Linked DNA regions of Homo sapiens: region 2 is linked to region 1. Evidence: promoter capture Hi-C in human tissues and cell types (Jung and others, 2019). All regions are on one chromosome and are shown on one strand. Each heading gives the region's core, a stretch centred on a gene start or on the middle of the fragment in contact. The rest is flanking DNA. Distances are from core to core; before and after follow the strand shown.

Region 1 (5,528 bases), core at 1,847-4,346:
TAAGGCAATATATAAGCAACTTAAATATTTTAATAATGCTTGCTCCTCATTTTTACTTACATAAATGGGCTAAAAAGAGATGTATTTAGATGCAGAACAAAGAGTCGCCCGTTGGTATCCACTGGGGACTGGTTCCAGGACCCTCCTCAGATACCAAAATCTGCGCATGCGGCCCTATGGAACCTGCATATATGAAGTCAGCCCTCCACATCCTCAGGTTTCATATCCTGCAAATACTGAATCTTGATACACGTTTGATTGTGGATGCAGAATCTATGGGGACAGAGGGCCAACTACTGAAAAAAATTCACATGAGTAGACCCATGCAGTTCAAACTTGTGTTGTTCATGTGTCAACTGTATACGTTATCTCTACATAAGGACTACAATGTACTTTACTATTCAGATTCTTTTTTAAAAAACAAACAATTAACTGAAAAATTGTGGTTAATGTTTAAGTGAAATAAATTGAAGTATAATTCAAAAAAAATTTCACTTAATATTTCACTTTACCTCTAGGCAAAGTTATGGATCCCCAGTAACGGATAATCTATTATTTATGTGTAAGTCTGTAAATATTCATGGAAATATACCCTTTTCAGATTTATGCTCTCCATTACCTTTGTGTACTAAGCACATTTTCCCTAAACTGAAATATCTCTAATACATCTCCTGGCCTGAGATTACTCAATAGCAATAGAACTGAGGCATCGAGACACTTAACTGCCATACTAGAAAAATGCAACGTTACCTGGAAAACTAGTCTTCATTATATCAATTCCAACTTGCAGCTCAGGTTCAGCAGCAAGCACTGCATAGTCTCCTTGATGAGAGATGTTAAAGTTGAAATTCGGGTAAGGATTCGATGAGTCCTTTGCAAGAACTGGTTTTCCTTTTGCAGTTCTTTGCAAACGAATATGATTCCAAGGGATATTCAATTTCTCTGCAACTAATTTCCTTATCATCAGACGACCAGCCTGTTAAGTACATAAAACATTTGGTATGTACTGATGTCTACTAAAGATACAAGCACACTGTATGCAATAGTACTTTTTTTTGGTTTCTAAAATTTTCATTTTTAAAACTTTTCAAAATACTTAAGTATTAAACACACGTTAATTAAGACTTAAGCAATGCTTAAGTAGATAAAAAGTTAAAGCCCGCCTTAGCAATTCCCTCTCCTTTGCTAGTGACCAAAGTTAACAGCTGGCATCCTGTCAGTCTTTTCTGTATTTAAATATATGTGCATTTACATGTTTTTGCTAACTCTACATATAAACACAAACATGAGATTATACTTATGCAGTATTCTACCACATATAAGCTTTAAATTTATAAGTATTGGGAAGTATTTTATGTCTGTACACACACGTCTGGTCCATGCAGTTTTAACTGTAGCATATTTCATAATATTATTTCCCCTTTATTGGACATTTTAGGCTGGCTCTAGACTTGCTGTCAAAAACAACTCTGCAGTGAGCAACCCTACTGTACCTACATCTGTGCATATGTATTTCTAGATCCCATATATTGATCACCCAGCTTCAACAATTAGCAAGGCATGACCTATCTTGTTCTGCTCTCTCCCACCTCCAATTATTATTTTTTAAATAATTACTAAAAACACACACACAAAAAAACAAGAATATAAGATGACAAAGTATATATTTTTAAAAATATCTTTCAGGTTTTTTTCTTCTTCAATTCTAACACTGACTTTTAAAAACTGCAGGCTTTTAAATGTAGCTTATTTTACAATTCCTTACAAATGAGTAAAAAATTTTCACCAATGTGCCTTAAAAATTATCAACTAGTCTACATTTCAAACAGAAAGTGTTTCAATATGGGACATTTTTAAGAAAGGACTGTCTTTTAAATGATGGTAATTCACGGTTGTTTCAAATTGCACCATATTGTACAGATTACTTGTTTTGAAATCCAGTTTTCCATTTGTTGCTTCAAAATACATAGCTAAAATAAATAAATCTACGTAAAATACTGTTTCCCATGGCATCTAGTGAGGAAGGTATCCTCTCTGGCTTCAATTTCATTGGCTTCAATCCCGGGGAGCGCAGGGCTACAAACTAAATCATACTGTCAATAATTTCTAGGGCCTACCACGTGCAGGGAGTCCTTGGAGAATGATGGGATATTTAACAGGCAGAATAAGCATAGGCTATGAACGCACACAAACAAAAAAAAATAACATTTAAAGATAAAGACATAAAAACATTCATTACAGAAAAACCCAATTTTGTCGGCCTTCCCTACACTTATTTCATGGTTTAGGAGGGTCTCCATTTGAAATAACAAGGGGAAAGAGATAATGTTTACAGCCATCGCGGCCTCCAAGGCGGTTACAAAGGCCGTGGAAACCAGGCCGTGCGTCGCCCACAACTCCGCAGCGCCGGCTGCTGTCGCCCGGGCCGGCCACAGGCTCCACAGCGAGAGGGTCGCGGCCAGCGCGGGAGTGTCGGGTCTCCACAGCCCGGCCCGCCTCCCCCAAGATCTGCTTCCTAGGCTCTAAATACCAAAAAAGACCTGTAGTACCATGGCTGCCTTAGCGTCCCGGGCAAAGACGAACTGGCCAATGCGCTCCTTCTCCTCGGGCTGAATCGATCGCACTGCCAGCAGCCATTCGGCTCGGCTCGGCAGCCAAGTGCCGCAGGAAAAGGCCCAGCGCACGCCCTCCATGGATGGCACCAAGCAGAACCGTTTGGCAGGGAAAACCATACACTGAAAGCGGACCTCGCCGCTATCTCGGGCCTGATGGCGCGGACGCAAACGTGGCCCCACCCCCTTCTTCCCGGCGTCCGTGCGCAGGGGACGGGCCGTCGCTACGCAGACTGGCCCACCGACAGCCCTCCCAGCCCGCCCCCGACTCAGCCACCTCCTCTCGGAGAAAGCAGCTGGGGGCGGAGACGGAGATCAGCCCTGCGCTTTGCGGCATTGTATGACGTCAAGTAGGCGAGGCTTCGGAGGCGAGCGAAGGGCGGGACCAAGGCCAAGAGCCCGACAGTTACGCCACTCACACTTGCGGAAGAGTTAACGGGACAGCGGTGCAGGCCAATCGCAACCAGTCCTCTGGAGGCAGGGAGACTGGGGTGGAGACTTCGGAGACTGCAGTTGCAGGTGGGTGAGCTCCGGGGTCTGAGGGAGGAGTGGGATGGTAGCCCTTATTCTCAGGGTCTGAGTTGGCCCCTGTGACCCACAGAGAAGAGAATGTCCTTGGCTTCAGCTGCTTCGTGTACGGGGCACGAGAGGTTTCCATCTCTAGGAGGGGGTCTGCAGTGGTGCCCCCTGCAGTTGTGCAACGCATCAGCCCTGAGTTCCTTCTTTCCCTGCCCCCATCCGCATCAGCCTAAGACCCACCCTCACACAGTACGCTCCCGACCCTTAGCAGCAGCCTACCTGAAACCCTCCCTCCGAAGGCCGAGCAGAGGCACTATCCCCAGTGCGCAACACTGACCCCGCCTGGATCCGAGGCTGCCAGCGAGCAGCTGAGCTAATGCTGGCTGTTTATTTGGGGCGATGAAGCGACCCAGGTGCTGTTTTGCTATTGCCAAGCCTGGGCTAGAGCACTAGCGAGAAAACAGGATTCCATTGTTGAGGTATCAGTGTTTCCATCATGACAGAGGTCCTTGCTCTAACAGCAACAGAAACAAGTAAATAACTTTGCTCAGTTATTTTCTCAGACTTTGCGAAGGGTCATATTGATGTATGTCTGTTTCCTTAGTTGTTCCGTGTAGGCTGTTGTTGACTCTCGTATGAAAGCCCACGCGATCCAAGTGCCCTGCAGGTTTTGGTCCAGGGAAAAGTTGGTCTCTGCAGATGACTGTAAATGACTACCTGGAGGTCGATTAAAGTGCGGTACTGCGGGATTCAGCCGATTTCCTTCTTCCTCTGACTGCCCGGAAATATCAGCCAAAGGCCAGCGGTAGTAATTAACACAATTACCTGCCTATGATTTCTGTCCTATTTAAGATGGGTTCTATTATGTTTTTATCTATACTTGTCTTCATTAACTTTTCGTGATATCATAAGCCCCCCGAATCCCTCGAAAGTAGATGGGATTCTGAGCACACACACACACAAATTCAGATCCCCAAAGGACAGTAAAACGAATTATTGGCTTAATATATCATCTTAGCTAACCAAAAGCCTGTGTCAGCTGCCATGTTGAAAATCTGCTTACCAGCTGCAGGGAGCTTACAATCTGGTAAGGCAAATAAATCATACGCATAAAAAGTACAATAAGAGACAGTGTAAAGATACGTAAGTGATACTAATACCCATATCAGCAATGATCATAACTCACTTCTCCATTTTTAACTAAGAATCATATAACCTTTCCTTCTTGTCGTTTTAAACTGATTTTTATAACTTTGATACATTACGTTTCTGTTTCCAAAACACTTCTGTGTACGTTATTGCACATGTTCTGTGCACTAGTTATTACTGATGGAGACAATGAGCTCAGAAAGAGAATTTGTTTAAATTCAGGAATTCATATCCCATTATTTTACCATCGAGCAAGATCTCTGTGTATTAGATCTATGGAGCCTAATACACAGACAGTAACGTAGGGATTATTTGTACTTGGTCTAGAATCTAGAATATTCTCCCCTTCTCCCATTATCACATTCCTTGTTTCCTCTGTATCATTCAGGCCCAAATCTCATACCAAACAGAATGTCTCTGTTCACCTAGTCTAAAATAGCTTACTCTCTCCACTTCCAAACCTCAGCCCCAAACCTATCACCCTGTGAACATATTTTATAGGTTTGTTTAATCCCCTTCCCTGTGTGGTTTTACAAATTCTCCAGAGCTTAGCTTAAACCTTCTCTTAGGGCCTACTTCAGAGTACCTTTTTCCAAAACAGTATTGTTTATGTAATTCATTTGGCAGTTATTCTAGTATTGCCTTATGACGTCTCTCCTATTGTCCTGAATTATTTTCATGTGTGTTATCTTGCAAAATAGAATGTACAGTACTTGAGAGGGAATGTCATGTATACCTTTTACAAATAGTATACATGAGTAAATGTTATTAATGACTCCACAATAGATTTATTACTGTCAAGGGTAACACTGCTTTTTATATTCTATCTGCCTTTACTTCCCTCACTTTTATTAAGGAAATATAAATATGCAGTTCATAACTTGCTTAACTATATTAAATGAACCCAACAATTTTATTAAAATATTTTTTACTGCATTGGTCAGGGGAAGAAGAGGACTAAAGTAATAGGGGCTCACTCAGTCTGTAATGATCATCTTGCTTGGTGCTGATCTGTGGCTTCTTAGCAGGATTCTGAGGGACTCGTATTCTATTTCCAGCTCTACCACCAATTGTCTGTGTGACATTGGTCACACAGGATCCTATGTGTGACATAACCTCTTCCATGTATTAATTTCAATGGAAAGGCATCGGATGAGATCATCTCTAAGTCTAGGTGTTTTTTAGATATACTCACTAACTTTTTATTGGGTCACAAACTTTATTCTACCTCAAACCCTTCTTTTTTCC
Region 2 (5,528 bases), core at 355-2,854, 1.5 Mb after region 1:
CTCGGCCTCCCAAAGTGCTGGGATTACAGGCGTGAGCCACCGCGCCCGGCCAAGAACCTAGTTCTTACCTTGTTCTTCCACTCTGTAAAATTTTCAGTTCCCTGAGGAATACCCTTTTCAATATTTTTCAGCCTTTAGCCAGTTTTCAATGTCATAAAATATTATGTGAGCTGGCAGCTATGGCATGAATGGAGATTTCACAAGACTGGCTTGTGTATGATGGTCTAACTGGGGGTTAAGACAGGGAACACAACTAGAAGATAATGAGGATGGAAGAAAATAAGAAGGGCCAAGATTTGTCTTTTGGTCACATTTTTCTGATATGGGAAGCGGGCAGCGAAGTGCTGGTAGAGAAGTGTGGGGTCTTTGGTGAGGACTCCACCCTTGAGCCTATGCCCATAGAGCTAAGTGAGGACAGACATTTCTGTTTTCGTACCCAGAAGGTTGCCTTTTGGCCTACTACACCCCCGATCCTGTGCCCATTTAAACCAGAGACTTTAAGCAGGCACAGACACAAGCAGCTGAGCAATGAGAGGAGCAGAGGAACAGAGCAGTGGAGAGCAGTGAAGAGTGTGGCAGGGTGGCATGGCAGAGAAAGAGAAGAGAGGTATATACCCAGTAATGGGATTGCTAGGTCAAATGGTTATTTCTGGTTCTAGGTCCTTGAGGAATTGCCACACTGTCTTCCACAATGGTTGAACTAATTTACACTCCCACCAACAGTGTAAAAGAGTTCCTATTTCTCCAAATCCTCTCCAGCATCTGTTGTTTCTTGACTTTTTAATGATTGCCTTTCTATCTGGTGTGAGATGGTATCTCATTGTGGTTTTGATTTGCATTTCTCTAATGACCAGTGATGATGAGCTTTTTTCCTATGTTTGTTGGATGCATAAATGTCTTCTTTTGAGAAGTGTCTGTTCATATCCTTCACTCACTTTTTGATGGGGTTGCTTGTTTTTATCTTGTAAATTTAAGTTTCTCATAGATTCTGGATATTAGCCCTTTGTCAGACGGATAGATTGCAAAAATTTTCTACCATTCTGTATGTTGCTTGTTCACTCTGATGATAGTTTCTTTTGCTGTGCAGAAGTTCTTTAGTTTAATTAGACCCCATTTGTCAATTTTGGCTTTTGTTGCCATTGCTTTTGGTGTTTTAGTCATGAAGTCTTTGCCCATGCCTATGTCTTGAATGGTATTGCCTAGGTTTTCTTCTAGAGCTTTTATAGTTTTAGGTCTTAGGTTTAAGTCTTTAAAGTCTTTAATCCATCTTGAGTTAATTTTTGTATAAGGTGTGAGGAAGGGGTCCAGTTTCAGTTTTCTGCATATGGCTAGCCAGTTTAAGGATTATAAATCATGCTACTGTGAAGACACATGCACATGTATGTTTATTGCAGTACTATTCACAATAGCAAAGACTTGGAACCAACCCAAATGCCCATGAATGATAGACTGGATAAAGAAAATGTGGCACATATACACCATGGAATATTATGCAGCCATAAAAATGGATGAGTTCATGTCCTTTTCAGGGACATGGATGAAGCTAGAAACCATCATTCTTAGCAAACTAACACAGGAACAGAAAACCAAACACCACATGTTCTCACTCATAAATGGGAGTTAAACAGTGATAACATATGAACACAGGGAGGGGAACATCACACAATGGGGCCTGTTGGGGGGTGGGGGGCTAGAGGAGGGATAGCATTAGGAGAAATATCTAATGTAGATGATGGGTTGATAGGTGCAGCAAACCACCACGGCATATGTATACCTATGTAACAAATCTTCACATTGTGCCAATGTATCCCAGAACTTAAAGTGTAATTAAAACACACACAGAAAGAAAGAAAGAAAGAAAGAAAGAAAGAAAGAAAGAAAGAAAGAAAGAAAGAAAGAAAGAAAAGAAAAGAAAAGAAAAGAAAAGAAAAGAAAAGAAAAGAAAAGAAAAGAAAAGAAAAGAAAGAGGAGGAAGGACTTATGGACGCTGAGGAGAGTTCAGCCAAGGGTGGTCGGAGAAGACTTCGGTCGCTGGGCAGCCCTACTTCAGGGGAAGATCACCTTGTCACTCCATCCTCATCTTCAGCTCCCCATCCATCTCACTGAGAGCCACCTGCACCACTCAATAAACCTTGCACTCATCCTTGCAGCCCACATGTGCTCTGATTCTTCCAGTACACTGGGCAAGAACCCAGGTTGTCACACTTGGCCCCCTTTCTTCAGATAAGGCAGAGGGTCTAATTAAGTTGATTAACACAAGCCATCTGCAGACGGCAAAGCCGAAAGCACACTGTAACATATGCCCACTTGGGCTTTAAGAGTTGTAAACACTCACCCCTATAAGCTGCTGTGGGGCCAGAGCCCCAAAATGCTCCTCATGATCTATGCACCTGCCCGTCTGCATGCTCACCCTAGGGGTTTGAGCATCTGGGCATGGAAGAAGCCAGCCACACCCAGGTCACACGCCCTGCCAGGGGGATAAGGGAACTTCTCTCATTTCAATTTCACATTTCTCAAAATTTAGCCTATGCTACGCTTCCACCCTGTATTTGCCTTCCTTCTCAACACTTAATTTCTTTTTTCCCTGCCCCTTTGACTCCAATACTAATTTGCAGTGCACTTCAACCTGGAGCAATGACACAAGATTTTACATTTGGAGTAATATACTAATAGAGCAGCAGTGAAGATGTGGCAGAAGCCAAGGAGGCTTATCTTCATGTTAGGGACACAATATGTGGAGCCGTTATATCCAGATAAGTAAATTCACCCATTCCACATGAGTAGAGTCACTATCTTAGAAGAGTGGCTAATCTGGCTTCCTGCAACCCTCTAATATCTACTTTTTCTTCTATCAAAACAACTAGAAATGCAATGATATAGAAGTTTCCAAATTTACTATAGAAACAACCTCCTTGCCAGTTCCTAATGCTTTGGCTCTCCCTTCCATTTCCATTGTGCTAAACTAGAATCATGTTAAACAAACAAGAAAGCTTCTTTATCAGAGTACAAAGATTAAAAAAGTCAACAACTTAATAAGTGTAAATAAATTTTACCATGTTTTTCAGAAAGAAATGCTCAGGCATTAAAAAGTTTGAATCTTACAAAATTAGTTGTGAATCAGGTACTAATTAATATATGATTAGACATTTTGAGACCCAAAATCAAATGAGAGCTTGGCTATCTTACCCTGAGAGAGAAGAAATCACTGAAAGGCAAATCTAGATAAAAGTCTTTGAGCAAGAACAAATGTCTCTGAGTGAGAGGTCACTCTGAGGATCCCCTAAAAGCACAAGGAATACCTTATGGGAGTTCCTAAAGGGCCAGATATTGGTATAACTGCTTCACAAAGCTGTCATTGAACCTAGTTCAGATATGGCCTGACTGCAGATATTGTACAAATGCAGTCATGCAAAAGACTCACAAAACCTTTGGTTTTCTTCTCAAACAGTCATTTTTGAAATAAATCCCAAGAAGTCAACTCCAACATGATTTCTAGGGAAGAAACTAAGCAGCTTCAGTTTTCACACTTTGTTTTCAGTTTCCAGTTGCATATTCTAACCTGTTGAGGAGTTTCATTTCTACTAAACACTATGTATTATAGATATATGTATACAGATATAATACACATACTCTATATACCCATAGTGTGTAATATATGAGTGTGTCTATATATTATATATATGTGTGTGTGTATATATATATATATAAAATATATATTTTTTTCTTTCTCGGATACTTTGCAAAATACTGACTCTCTATATATAGTATATAAGGTATATATATATATATATGGGGTCAATATTTTGCAAAGTATCTGAGAAAGAAAAATTATTTCACAAATTTTCTTATTAGTATATTCCTGGAAATTTTAATGGACCCTCATTCTGTTTTTTATACTTGAAGTAATAGATCAACTCTCCTGAGTGACATCACAATGTGAACATGAGTACTTAACAGCTACACAAAAAGAAGAAACATAAATCTGTAATAACAAGCTACAAATGCCCTTTCTATATTAGTTGAGTATTTTAAGCTCCCTTTATAGATAAGATGAGCTTCCAGTTTCACATCTGATTCTTCATTCAGGTGAGTTTTTCACCTTTCTTACTGGTGTCAGAGTGAAAGCTTTTATTCATTGTGCATTTTTCCCCCTCCTTACACAGTTTCAAAAGAGTTAAAATTTTAGGAGCTATAGAAAATGTATGGGCACTTAAACAAGACAGTGCATAAGCTAAATCCAAGTTACACCAATTTCTGACATGCAGTATATGTTAATTTATTGAGCCGTAGGCTTATATCTATGTAAAGGAAAGAATAACATCTACCAAACAAGTTTAATGTAAGAACGTAATGAATAACATATGCAAAGAATATCATTGATACCTAATAAGTATTCAATACAAGCTGTTATTGTCACAGATTTACATGTATTAAATCATCTGAGTTTTTTCTACATAAAATTGTTGAGATTTTACTTGATGAATGGGTAAAGAAAGAAAAATGTTAAATTATATATTTATTTTTTAACCAAATATTAGTTGAGCATTATACCCAGTTGTGCCATATCCTAGATAAAATGAATAAACCATGTCATCTAACAGCTCAAAGCTAAGTAGGGAAGACAGAAACACAAACATAATTACAACAGACTCTGAAAAGTGTACAAATTAGTATATGCATGAAGTATACTTGTGACTGATATAAGGGGTTTCAGTTAAGTATTCACAGAAAGAATACTTGGCCAACTCTTAAAGAATGAGTAGAAGTTCTTTACATATAACTTAAATATAAAACTACCTCAACCTTAAGTACTACAGAATACATAAACGAGTGCTCTAACAGTGAACAGACTCAAAAAACTTGATATGACCTTGTTTATAAGACTAGATCACTTTATTGATGAACTTAATAGCTCCTTACATATATCCCTTTTTGCTGAACCTGCATTAGGAATATTGAAATGCATTCTCTCTCTTTGTTCAGCCTCCTTGAACTTATCCACTCTATATATGTATAGAATCAAGAAAACAGCTGGGAATTTTTCCCTGGAGTTGCTTTCTTTTCAGCATTTATTATTTTCCTTCCTTTAAATAATATCCCATCTGCTTTTGGGAAACTACTAGTTTCGCATTATTGGTTATGCAATTTTGATGGTACTGCCTAGGGTTTATTCGCACAGCTCACACTCTTGGCCACAGTGATTGGGGTCAAAGAAAGGTTCTAACACGTTGATTATTTATTGGATGAGTTCACTAATCAATGGATGTATGCAGGCTTCAGCCAATAGGCACATTATATTTTCCTGGCCATCAGGATTGCTACAGATATTGACCAGTAATTTAGTCCAGCCCCAGAGGTGTGATCCTTAGAACAATTGTTAGGCCTGTGAGACAACAGCCTCCCTGAAGTGGGTGGTAGAAGAATGTAAAGGTTGCTGCTTGCTGCTGCTCTTGTACATCCGTTGAGAGGCACTATTCAAAGGGCTGAGCTAGCCCAGAGGGCAAGGGGCAGTGTAAAGAGAAATTCTA

The links. The method cuts DNA at HindIII sites, captures the fragments that hold promoters and counts their contacts. A contact is called where the count stands out against the background at its distance.
Region 2: a contact is called between a fragment that was not itself captured here and the fragment with the promoter of KBTBD3 in region 1, in 1 of the 25 tissues and cell types used here (dorsolateral prefrontal cortex).

The regions. Positions count from the first base shown.
Region 1 is chr11:106,074,915-106,080,442 of GRCh38, reverse strand. KBTBD3 (kelch repeat and BTB domain containing 3) reads left to right here and starts at 3,096. Exons shown (of 4, transcript NM_198439.3): 1 at 3,096-3,131; 2 at 3,736-3,936. It overlaps AASDHPPT (aminoadipate-semialdehyde dehydrogenase-phosphopantetheinyl transferase), which reads right to left and starts at 2,781. Exons shown (of 6, transcript NM_015423.3): 1 at 2,550-2,781; 2 at 751-976. The coding sequence starts at 2,732. RefSeq lists enhancers at 2,514-2,753, 3,064-3,173, 3,184-3,303. The HindIII fragment of the contact is 12,921 bases long and covers 432-5,528 here.
Region 2 is chr11:104,612,379-104,617,906 of GRCh38, reverse strand. No RefSeq gene overlaps it. Among named protein-coding and RNA genes, the nearest start is that of LINC02552, 5.8 kb to the right of the region's middle. The HindIII fragment of the contact is 8,478 bases long and covers 1-5,528 here.